3 separate regions of the Homo sapiens genome follow, and regions 1 and 2 are each linked to region 3. Evidence: promoter capture Hi-C in 16 types of primary human blood cells and fetal thymus (Javierre and others, 2016). All regions are on one chromosome and are shown on one strand. The core of a region is centred on a gene start or on the middle of the fragment in contact, and the rest is flanking DNA. Distances in the headings are between cores, read along the strand shown.

Evidence for each region. The method cuts DNA at HindIII sites, captures the fragments that hold promoters and counts their contacts. A CHiCAGO score of 5 or more calls a contact.
Region 1: a contact is called between the fragment with the promoter of FAM135A here and the fragment with the promoter of SLC17A5 in region 3, in 5 of 17 cell types (activated CD4 T cells, non-activated CD4 T cells, total CD8 T cells and 2 more). The highest score is 8.4, in activated CD4 T cells.
Region 2: the fragment with the promoter of SDHAF4 here is called in contact with the fragment with the promoter of SLC17A5 in region 3 in 1 of 17 cell types (total B cells); the score reaches 7.5 in total B cells.

What each region holds. Positions count from the first base shown.
Region 1 is chr6:70,412,160-70,414,859 of GRCh38, reverse strand. FAM135A (family with sequence similarity 135 member A) reads right to left here and starts at 1,352. Exons shown (of 22, transcript NM_001162529.3): 1 at 1,158-1,352. FAM135A-AS1 (FAM135A antisense RNA 1) reads left to right here and starts at 902. Exons shown (of 2, transcript NR_147708.1): 1 at 902-1,023; 2 at 1,798-2,032. RefSeq lists silencers at 836-985, 1,326-1,545. The HindIII fragment of the contact is 2,225 bases long and covers 98-2,322 here.
Region 2 is chr6:70,565,581-70,568,581 of GRCh38, reverse strand. SDHAF4 (succinate dehydrogenase complex assembly factor 4) reads right to left here and starts at 1,652. Exons shown (of 3, transcript NM_145267.3): 1 at 1,578-1,652. The coding sequence starts at 1,641. RefSeq lists a silencer at 1,305-1,364. The HindIII fragment of the contact is 5,796 bases long and covers 1-2,351 here.
Region 3 is chr6:73,652,693-73,655,591 of GRCh38, reverse strand. SLC17A5 (solute carrier family 17 member 5) reads left to right here and starts at 1,600. Exons shown (of 11, transcript NM_012434.5): 1 at 1,600-1,799. The coding sequence starts at 1,706. RefSeq lists an enhancer at 396-485 and a silencer at 1,485-2,154. The HindIII fragment of the contact is 4,556 bases long and covers 445-2,899 here.

The sequences.
Region 1 (2,700 bases), core at 103-2,602, 3.2 Mb after region 3:
CTTTAACAAGTCTTAACCCATTATAGTTTCATTTAGTCTGTACTCAAGTTGCTTTCCCAGGCATGCCAGGTAAACATAATTCTTAAAAATTAAAGCTTTAATCAGTAAGTGTAACCGATTTGTTGCTACTGTCACTCTTTTGATGATACTTCCACCAACCGGTAAAGAAAGAAGAAATGTTATTAAACTGGAAGATGAACTAGAAACATTGAGTGGATACCTAGCTTAGGCAGAAAGCAGCAAGGACTAGAAGGGTATGTCACAAAGAAGTCTTCAGAGATTTAATAAAAAGTAAAACAAATGGAATGAAGTTAAGAGGCTTGACTTATACAAATGGGGGGGGGAGGGTGGAAGAGTTTTGGAGGGGAAAAAATTAAGATTAGAGACTCACTGGGTGCAGAATGGAAAAGGACGTGAGGATAGGGGCCATTAGACAGAAAGCGATGAAGCAGGGTACCAGAGGAAAGAGAAGGCAGTGAGGGTTTCCGAAGCTAAGATGGGGCATGGAATGAACTCCAATGCAAAGCGATGCTAAAGCAAAACACAATCGGCAACTAACAAAAAGGGAACCAGGAGGAAGTACCGAAAGGAGGTGGATGAGAGGAAAATAAAACCAAGGAAGAAATTATGGAGGTAACAAGAGTGAGAAACCTGGTCGGCCAGGGTAAGGAGCTCCGGACAGGGAAGAGCCAGGCAAGGGATGGAAGCACAGAGATACGCTGCTTCCCAAGGAGGGACCACCCGGGCAAAAAGACACGTGGGAGGCGCGGGATGAAAAAGCAGAACCACGAAAGCGGGTAAAGGAGGGACAGAGCGACGAAGATGGAGCAGGGGTGAAGGGCAAACACGCTAGGCGCGAGGTTCAGGAAGAACGGGTCGAGGGACGCGCGCAGGGGCAGGGGCGGCCGCGGGCACCGGGAGAGCAGCGCGCCGCGGCCCCTCGCCTCCCTCAGAGCGCTCCGCACCGCCGTCCCCACCGACCTTCAACGGGGCCGGGGCCAGGCTCCGACCGCCAGCAGTCGGGTGAGGGGCCGCGGCGGGCGAACGGCGGACGAAGAGGAGGCCGCTTCCTTCCTGGCCCCTGGGCAAGAGGGACGGAGGGAGGGGTCGTGGGTGTCGGGAGCCGGGGGAGCCAGAGGGGACAGTAAGGGGGTTACCTCTCGCCCGGCTCGGCCTCTTCCCCCGCCTGTCGAACGGAGGAGCTCGTTGTCCAGCTGCAAGAAGACGGCCCGACCCGGGTCAGCACCATCCCGCCCCGGGCCCCCTCACATCGCCATCACAGCAACCGCAAACACCGCAACCGCGGAGCCGGTTCGTCACCGCGGCTCGGCTACTGGCCCAGCGCGGCCAGCGAGCATGCGCAGTCGCCCCAGTCCCGAGGGAGCCCGGGCCAGCCGGCTATACCTGCGATCAACAGGTCCCCGGCCGCACGGCCCCGCCCCCGGCCTCTCTCACCTCCTCCTCCCGCCTCTTCCCTCCCCTCTCTGAGGCTAGGCCCCGCCCCTTCAAGCTCCGTGCCCCGCCCTTCAGGAGCTTCAACTGCCCCTCCAGCTCCAGCGCCAACTGAGATTTCGAGAGATTTGTCCTCCCTACCAGGCTCCCGTTCCCAAGTTCCCGCGAGAACGGGAGGTTTGCGTCAATAAAAGGCGCGCGTCAAGAAAAGGGGCTCGCTTGTGGGTTTAAGGGATGGAACTTGGAGGTGGTTGAAGAGTAGTGAACAAGAAGAGGGCAAAAACACGGAGTTCGAGAACTTTAGCCGTTTTTCTCACAATGTTGTTTCTCCTTTTCTCTCTTTAGCTCCTCCGTGCAGTCCCGGGTAGAGAGCCCGGTCCCTGCGCTAGTCGATTTGTGCAGTAGGAAAGGAGGCTGCAGGGGATCTGCGCCGGGGCAGGACAGATGCCTTTCGGGACCCAGTGTTTGCATCTTGGGAGATGTGGGTGCTGATCTGGTTGTTTCTTGGTTTATGACGCCAAAAAGGGCGGGAGGGGGCTGATGAAGTGAAGCCTTTCGCTAATACATTCCGTTAACAGAAGCCCACGAAGGATCATTGATTTATTTCACTCTTCCCTGTTTCTGAACCTTATCTGGCAAAAACTTTTGTGGTGCATAAAGTTCAGTATGTTGCTAAAGCTGAGTTAATGAAAGGAAAATTTCAGCTGCGACTCTTGTTTTAAAAATGAATCTAGGATGGATAGTGGTGTTGGTTGCACAACAATGAATGGACATAATGCTACTGAACTGTGCACTTAAAAATGGTTAAAATGGTAAATTTTCTGTTATGTATATTTTACCACAATAAGAATGAATTAGAAGGGAAAAGCTTTGTGCATTCATTTGAAAGTAATGGTGAGGTCTTGTAACGTAGGCCATTTAGGGGACAGGTTTTGAATATATCTTTGTACCAGTTTTTTTTTTTTTCGAGTGTGTGTGTGAGACAGAGCATTGCTCCGTCGCCCAGGCGGGAGTGCAGTAATGTGATCTCGGCTCACTGCAACCTCTGCCTCCGGAGTTCAAGCAATTCTCCTGTCTCAGCCTCCCTAGTAGCTGGGACTACAGGCGCACACCACCACGCCTGACTACTTTTTGTATTGTTAGTAGAGACGTGGTCTCACCATATTGGTCAGGCTGGTTTCGAACTCCTGACCTTAGGTGATCCACCCGCCTTGGCCTTCCAAAGTGCTGGGATTACAGGCCTAAGAC
Region 2 (3,001 bases), core at 403-2,902, 3.1 Mb after region 3:
AAAATGCATCATATGTTCACACAGTTGAATGAATAACTACAACCTCATGCGTCAATGTGACTCAATCACAAAACACAGCGTTATCTGAAAAAAAATCAACAATATGAAAACATTTCTATAAAGATTAAAAACACCATTGCACAGTTGTATCAGGAAGCAGCAAATAGAGACCTCCTTGGCAATAGAGACTATTTCTTAAATTGGAGTATAAGTTCATAGATGCTGGTTGTGCTTCATAGCTTACATGACTGCTACATAGCTTACATGTGTGCTACGTGTGTGTGTGTGTATACATATATATATATGGAATAATTCATAATTGTTTAAAACTAGTTAAAGGGGGATGTTGAATGAACCCTACAAAATTTTAACGTTATTACCTTGAGGTTTGGATAATGTAGGACTTTCACTTTCTGTATTATTCATTTCTGGACTATTTAAAACTTATACAATTAAGTAAAATGTTTGTATTTGGGTAAAATGATTGCACAAAGGAAAACAAATTGCATAGAAATCTGGCACCATTTGAGGGCAATAATTACTGTTTTCAACTTACATAACTTCTCCAGGTGTCATATATTAAAATTATGTTTTGCGGACCGGGCGCGGTGGCTCACGCCTGTAATCCCAGCACTTTGGGAGGCCGAGGCGAGCGGATCACAAGGTCAGGAGATCGAGACCATCCTGGCTAACACGGTGAAACCCCGTCTCTACTAAAAATACAAAAAATTAGTCAGGCACGGTGGCGGGCGCCTGTAGTCCCAGCTACTCAGGAGGCTGAGGCAGGAGAATGGCGTGAACCTGGGAGGCAGAGCTTGCAGTGAGCCGAGATTGCGCCACTGCACTCCAGCCTGAGGGACAGAGCGAGACTCCATCTCAAAATAAATAAACAAATAAATAAATAAATAAATAAAATTATGTTTTGCATAGTCTGGGCTGCTAACTGTATTATCTTGAGAAAAATTTCCAACAACAATGGGTTTAAAAATGTTGGTTTTACTGAAAGCATGAATGCTTTTTCTGTACTGACAATTCCTGGCTTCATCTAATTTACGTTATACTTATTTGCCTTTGGCTCACTTCTGCACTTTTCCCATTTTTAAAAGATAAACTGTAAACTGCCACAAATCCTTTTCTGCTGGAGCCTGGACCAGGAGCGCGGATTCCTGTAAATAATGATGTAAATAAATAAGTAAATCAATGACTCCCATTCCCAAAGGGCCTTCTTTTCCATTTTTCTCTGGGGCATCGAAGTGCGGTGTGCCCTGCGAGCTCCCACAGGAACAACCCGGAACGTTTGTGGTCCTGTTGGGCCACCGCGTGCTCGGTAGGAAGCGGACGTCCCGGGGGCTGAAAGGGCCTTAGCGATTTTCTCGCTCTAGTCCCACCCGAGACCCGGGGCGCTGCAGGAACCTGCCCAGGCCACCGGGTGGGCGGCTGGGCGGGAGAAGCTGGGCAGCCCCTGGCAACACCGAACGGCCAGGACACACGCGGCTTCCTCCGCGGGAGGCGCTTCTCTCTGCGCCTGGGCCTTCACGACCCCTCCCGCGACCGTGGCCCCGAGGCCAGGTGCTTACTTGCCGCTCTCCACGCCGTGGCCGAGACCCAGCTAAGCAACCAGGGAAGCCTCGATGGGGTCATGGCGCCGACTCCCCGAGCCTCCGCGCAGGCGCAAAGCAGTAGTGGGAGGAGCAGGGGGCATGATCCGGAGCCTCCCTGCAGAGGGCGGGGCCTCCGTGGCCGGCTTTAGAAAAGGAGTTAGAGGCATCCCTGGGCTCTTTGGCCAAGAGAGACCCAGGCTACCTTGAGCCCGGTGTTAAAACGCCAAATCGTGGCTGCAGTTAGAAGAGGGAATAATTCCGTTCCGTTCATGCTTGTCAGTCTGAGCCGAAATGGCCCGTGGAAGATCCCTTTTATAGTTTACAAAGATTGAGCACCTTTTACTCTCTCACTCATGTAAAATGCTTCTTTTACCTAATTCTCCCTGTTTTGTGTTTTAAATCTTTGTTCAGTCAGCTCCTAGTTCGTCCATTCTGACCGACTAACCAGATGATATGAAAGGCGACATTTTTGAATGAGGTGCAAAGCAAGAAAAGGCTCTCCATCCAGGCCAGGATCCAGTGCAATGAGCTCTGCCCCTTAACCCTTACATCCCACCAGCTCTGATAGCGTTGAGTGGATGTGGCAGACCTGGATGCTTTGTGCAACTCGTGGAAATATTTACAGAATCATAGTGAAGGCCCCCAGAATTCTGGAATTTTGTCTTTTCTTTTAAAGAAAAGTTTCTGGCTAGCTATTGCGCCTTGGTAGTGTCTGACCATGTGACATCAAGTGGTTATACGATCGAAGCTTCTTATCATGAACTGAGAATTATCTGGTTCTCCTAGATAAGGAGATCCTTTTACGAAGAGAAAGTGGGCCGGGCAAGGTGGCTCACTCCTGTAATCCGAACACTTTGGGAGGCCGAGGCGGGTAGATTACCTGAGGTCAGGAGTTCGAGACCAGCCTGGCCAACACTCTACTAAAAATACAAAAATTAGCCGGGCGAGGTGGCACATTCCTGTAATCCCAGCTACTTGGGAGGCTGAGGTAGAAGAATCGCTTGAACTCGGGAGGCGGAGATTGCAGTGAGCAGAGATCACGCCACTGCACGCCAGCCTTGGAGACAGAGCAAAACTCCATCTCAAAAACAGAAAAAGAAAAAAGAGAGAAAGTGGGATACACAGAACTGGGCCAAAGTCAAAACGGAAACAGTTTTCATTTGTAGGGAGCTCACAGTCCTAATATCATGCTTTTGACCTTTAGCTTATATCTACAGTTTAATAATGAATTCCTTGTGACTAGCTGACTGAGGAAAAAATTCAAAGTCGGATGATGGCTTTGCTCAATAAACTGGCCCAGCTGGCAACTGACTGCTTTTCATATTTAGAGCCCCACTTAACAGAGGCCCTGAAGGAACAGAACAGGGAAAAAAAATTATTTCCAGCATGCATAATTTAGC
Region 3 (2,899 bases), core at 351-2,850:
GCAAGAGAAGTGGGGGAGTCGGATTTTTTATTCTAGATAGGCCTTCAACTGATTGAAGGAAGCCCACCCAGATTATGGAAGGCAGCCATCTTTACCCAGAGTTCAATGATTTTAGTGTTAACCTCATCCAAAGACAACCAGCAAGTTAACACATAAAATTAACCATCACACCAGATCTGCTGAATCTGAATCTACATTTTAAAAGGATTTGCCAGGTGACTCTGCATAATCCAGTTTGAAAATTGCATTTTTCTACAACCCTTAGAGAGTGTAAAAATCTACATGGTAATTCAGTAACTCAGAAACAAGGCTTGATTTGCTGCTTTAACTTGAGAACTTTTCTAGCATTTACTGATCTGGAGGTAGGGATGCCTACAGAAATCCTCGCCCTCCCTTCTAGGTAAAGGACCCTCCCCTTTGTTCTCACGTGAACCTCACTAAGCTTCTAACCTGGTTTACTGAATTAGTGGCTTGTGGGTCTTCCCTGTCTACACCAAACTCTCCGAGAGCATCTACATCTTATTTTCTACCTCCACAGAGACAGCCTTTATTGGCGGATCCAGATCTGCCCTGCCAAGGCAAGCTGGGTTTTCCTAGTTTCACTTTCAGAGTCCGCAAATGCTAGCACAATCTATCCAAATTCTATCGTGGAGATAAAGCATGCACACATACATCAGAGGATTCCATAGGTCGAACCATATGAAACTACCTATGTTGATTACTTTTACCTATAAAACCAGCAACATCATAGGACTCAACAAATTTCCATTGCTGTTTTTCCGCCTAAAAGCTATTTTAGGACCAGGAGCAGTGGCTCACGCCTGTAATCCCAGCACTTTGGGAGGCCGAGGAGGATTGCTTGAGCCCAGGAGTTCGAAACCAGCTTGGGCAATATAATAAGACCAAGCCTCTACAAAAATAAAAAGTAGAAACAAAATTAGCCAGATGTGGTGGCATGCTCCTGTAGTCCCAGCTACTTGGGGGAGCTGAAGAGAATCGCTTGAGTCCAGGAGTTGGAGGTTGCAGTGAGCTGCGATTGCGCCACTGCATTCCAGCTTGGGCAACAGAGCAAGACCCTGCCTGGGAGAAAAAAAAAAAAAAAAAAAAGCTATTTTAGGGACAATATGCCGCCACAGTCACGAGGTAAATATGCCGCCACAGTCACGAGGTAGATCGTACAAAGGTTGCTAACAGTATGGCAACTGACCGCTAACAAGCGAATGTCAAGTTGTGAAATGCACACCACCCACTTCCCTAGTTCGGTCGAAGCCCTCCCCTTAATTATGTGCAATTCAAGTCCCCACTGCCCGCCCGCAAGCCCCCACTCATCCTCGCTGCGGGCAGGGTGGCCCCTGCACTTTACAAGGGGGTGCAGGAGCGGGAGACGGTCGTCCGAACACCGGCTCCCCGGCATGCGTAGACCGGCGGGCGGAGCGGGCTCACTTTGCGCCAATCCTACGAGAACTCCCAGAACTCCGCTTCCCTAGTCCAACCCAAGCCAGAGTTGCCCACACCTAAGATGGCGGCGGGGGCGGAGTCGGCGCGGCCGCCTCTGGGCGGGACCGCGGGGACTAGACGTGGCCGCGGGGCGGTGTCATCGCCCCCGCCCCGCCCGGTCCAGCCAGCTCGGCCCGGGGGCTTCGGGCTGTCGGGCCGGCGCTCCCTTCTCTGCCAGGTGGCGAGTACACCTGCTCACGTAGGCGTCATGAGGTCTCCGGTTCGAGACCTGGCCCGGAACGATGGCGAGGAGAGCACGGACCGCACGCCTCTTCTACCGGGCGCCCCACGGGCCGAAGCCGGTAAGCGGCGGGGTCGTCCAGGGGCTTCGAGTGGGCAGCGGTACCGGGGGCGGCGGTCTCTGGGCCGGCATGGCCCGGGTACCCGCACCCTGCGCCGGCGGGACCGGAGCTGCTCAGGCGCGAGGGGACATTAAGAGGGGAGCCCGTTCAGAGTGCCGCTCAGTCCCGCCTGCCTCGGTGCGCAGAAGCCCCTCGGGAACCCCGGGGGCCGCGACCGTGATCGCGGAGCCGAGCCGGGGCCTCGGCAGGTGCAGCCCCACCGGGCGGGGGCGGGGGCGGGGGCGGGGGCGGGGGAGCGGCGGTGCAGCCGGCGCTGAGCTGGTGGTTATTTTGGGTAGTGCTGAGCAAGGGACCCAGTGGAAGAACGAACTGGGAGAGAATCATCAAATGAATGGGCTAAGGTCCGAGCGGAGGACCCCGGTGTAAGAGCAAACTGGAGGAGAAACCTGCAGATCAGTAGGCAGAGGGCTGTCCTTCCCTGTCACCGCTAGGTTTCCGCCACTGCGTATCCGCCAGCATGTGACCTGGTAGCTTCTTAGGCGGGGAGGGAAGACAAAAAAGGACTGGAGTTAACATTTGTGAGTATGCAGAGGGCAACTATTGTATAACCCAGCTGATATCTTGACATTGTGCAGTAAGAGACTAAAAACATCGAGGACATTTTTTTTCCGTCTGGCAGTCTATGATTTAAGTTAGGAAAAGGTTCAGTTATCCTCAAGATACCTATGGAGTTCTAAAGTAATTTGCCAAAGGTCTTGGAACAAATCGAAAAGCAGGTACGTCATAAAGCATCTTCCCTGAATTTGAGAAAATTAAAATATTTTGCTATTTGACACTTTTGTAATATAGTTTATTTAAAAGTAACGAAAACTAAAGAACAAATCAGTTTGAATGCATTCTATAGTTTCAAAGATCTGTGCGTGAGAAAGAGTTGTGTTGGAAATTTGACTTTGGCTAACCCAGAATTGTATAGTTTCTATATTTTTATTTGTTTTTAATGTTACCAGATGGTGGCAGTAGAGGTGGCAACCTTATAGCTCCATCTGGCAGCCGGGAGCTTATTTTAGTCAACACAAACTGTAAATACCATACCATAGTTA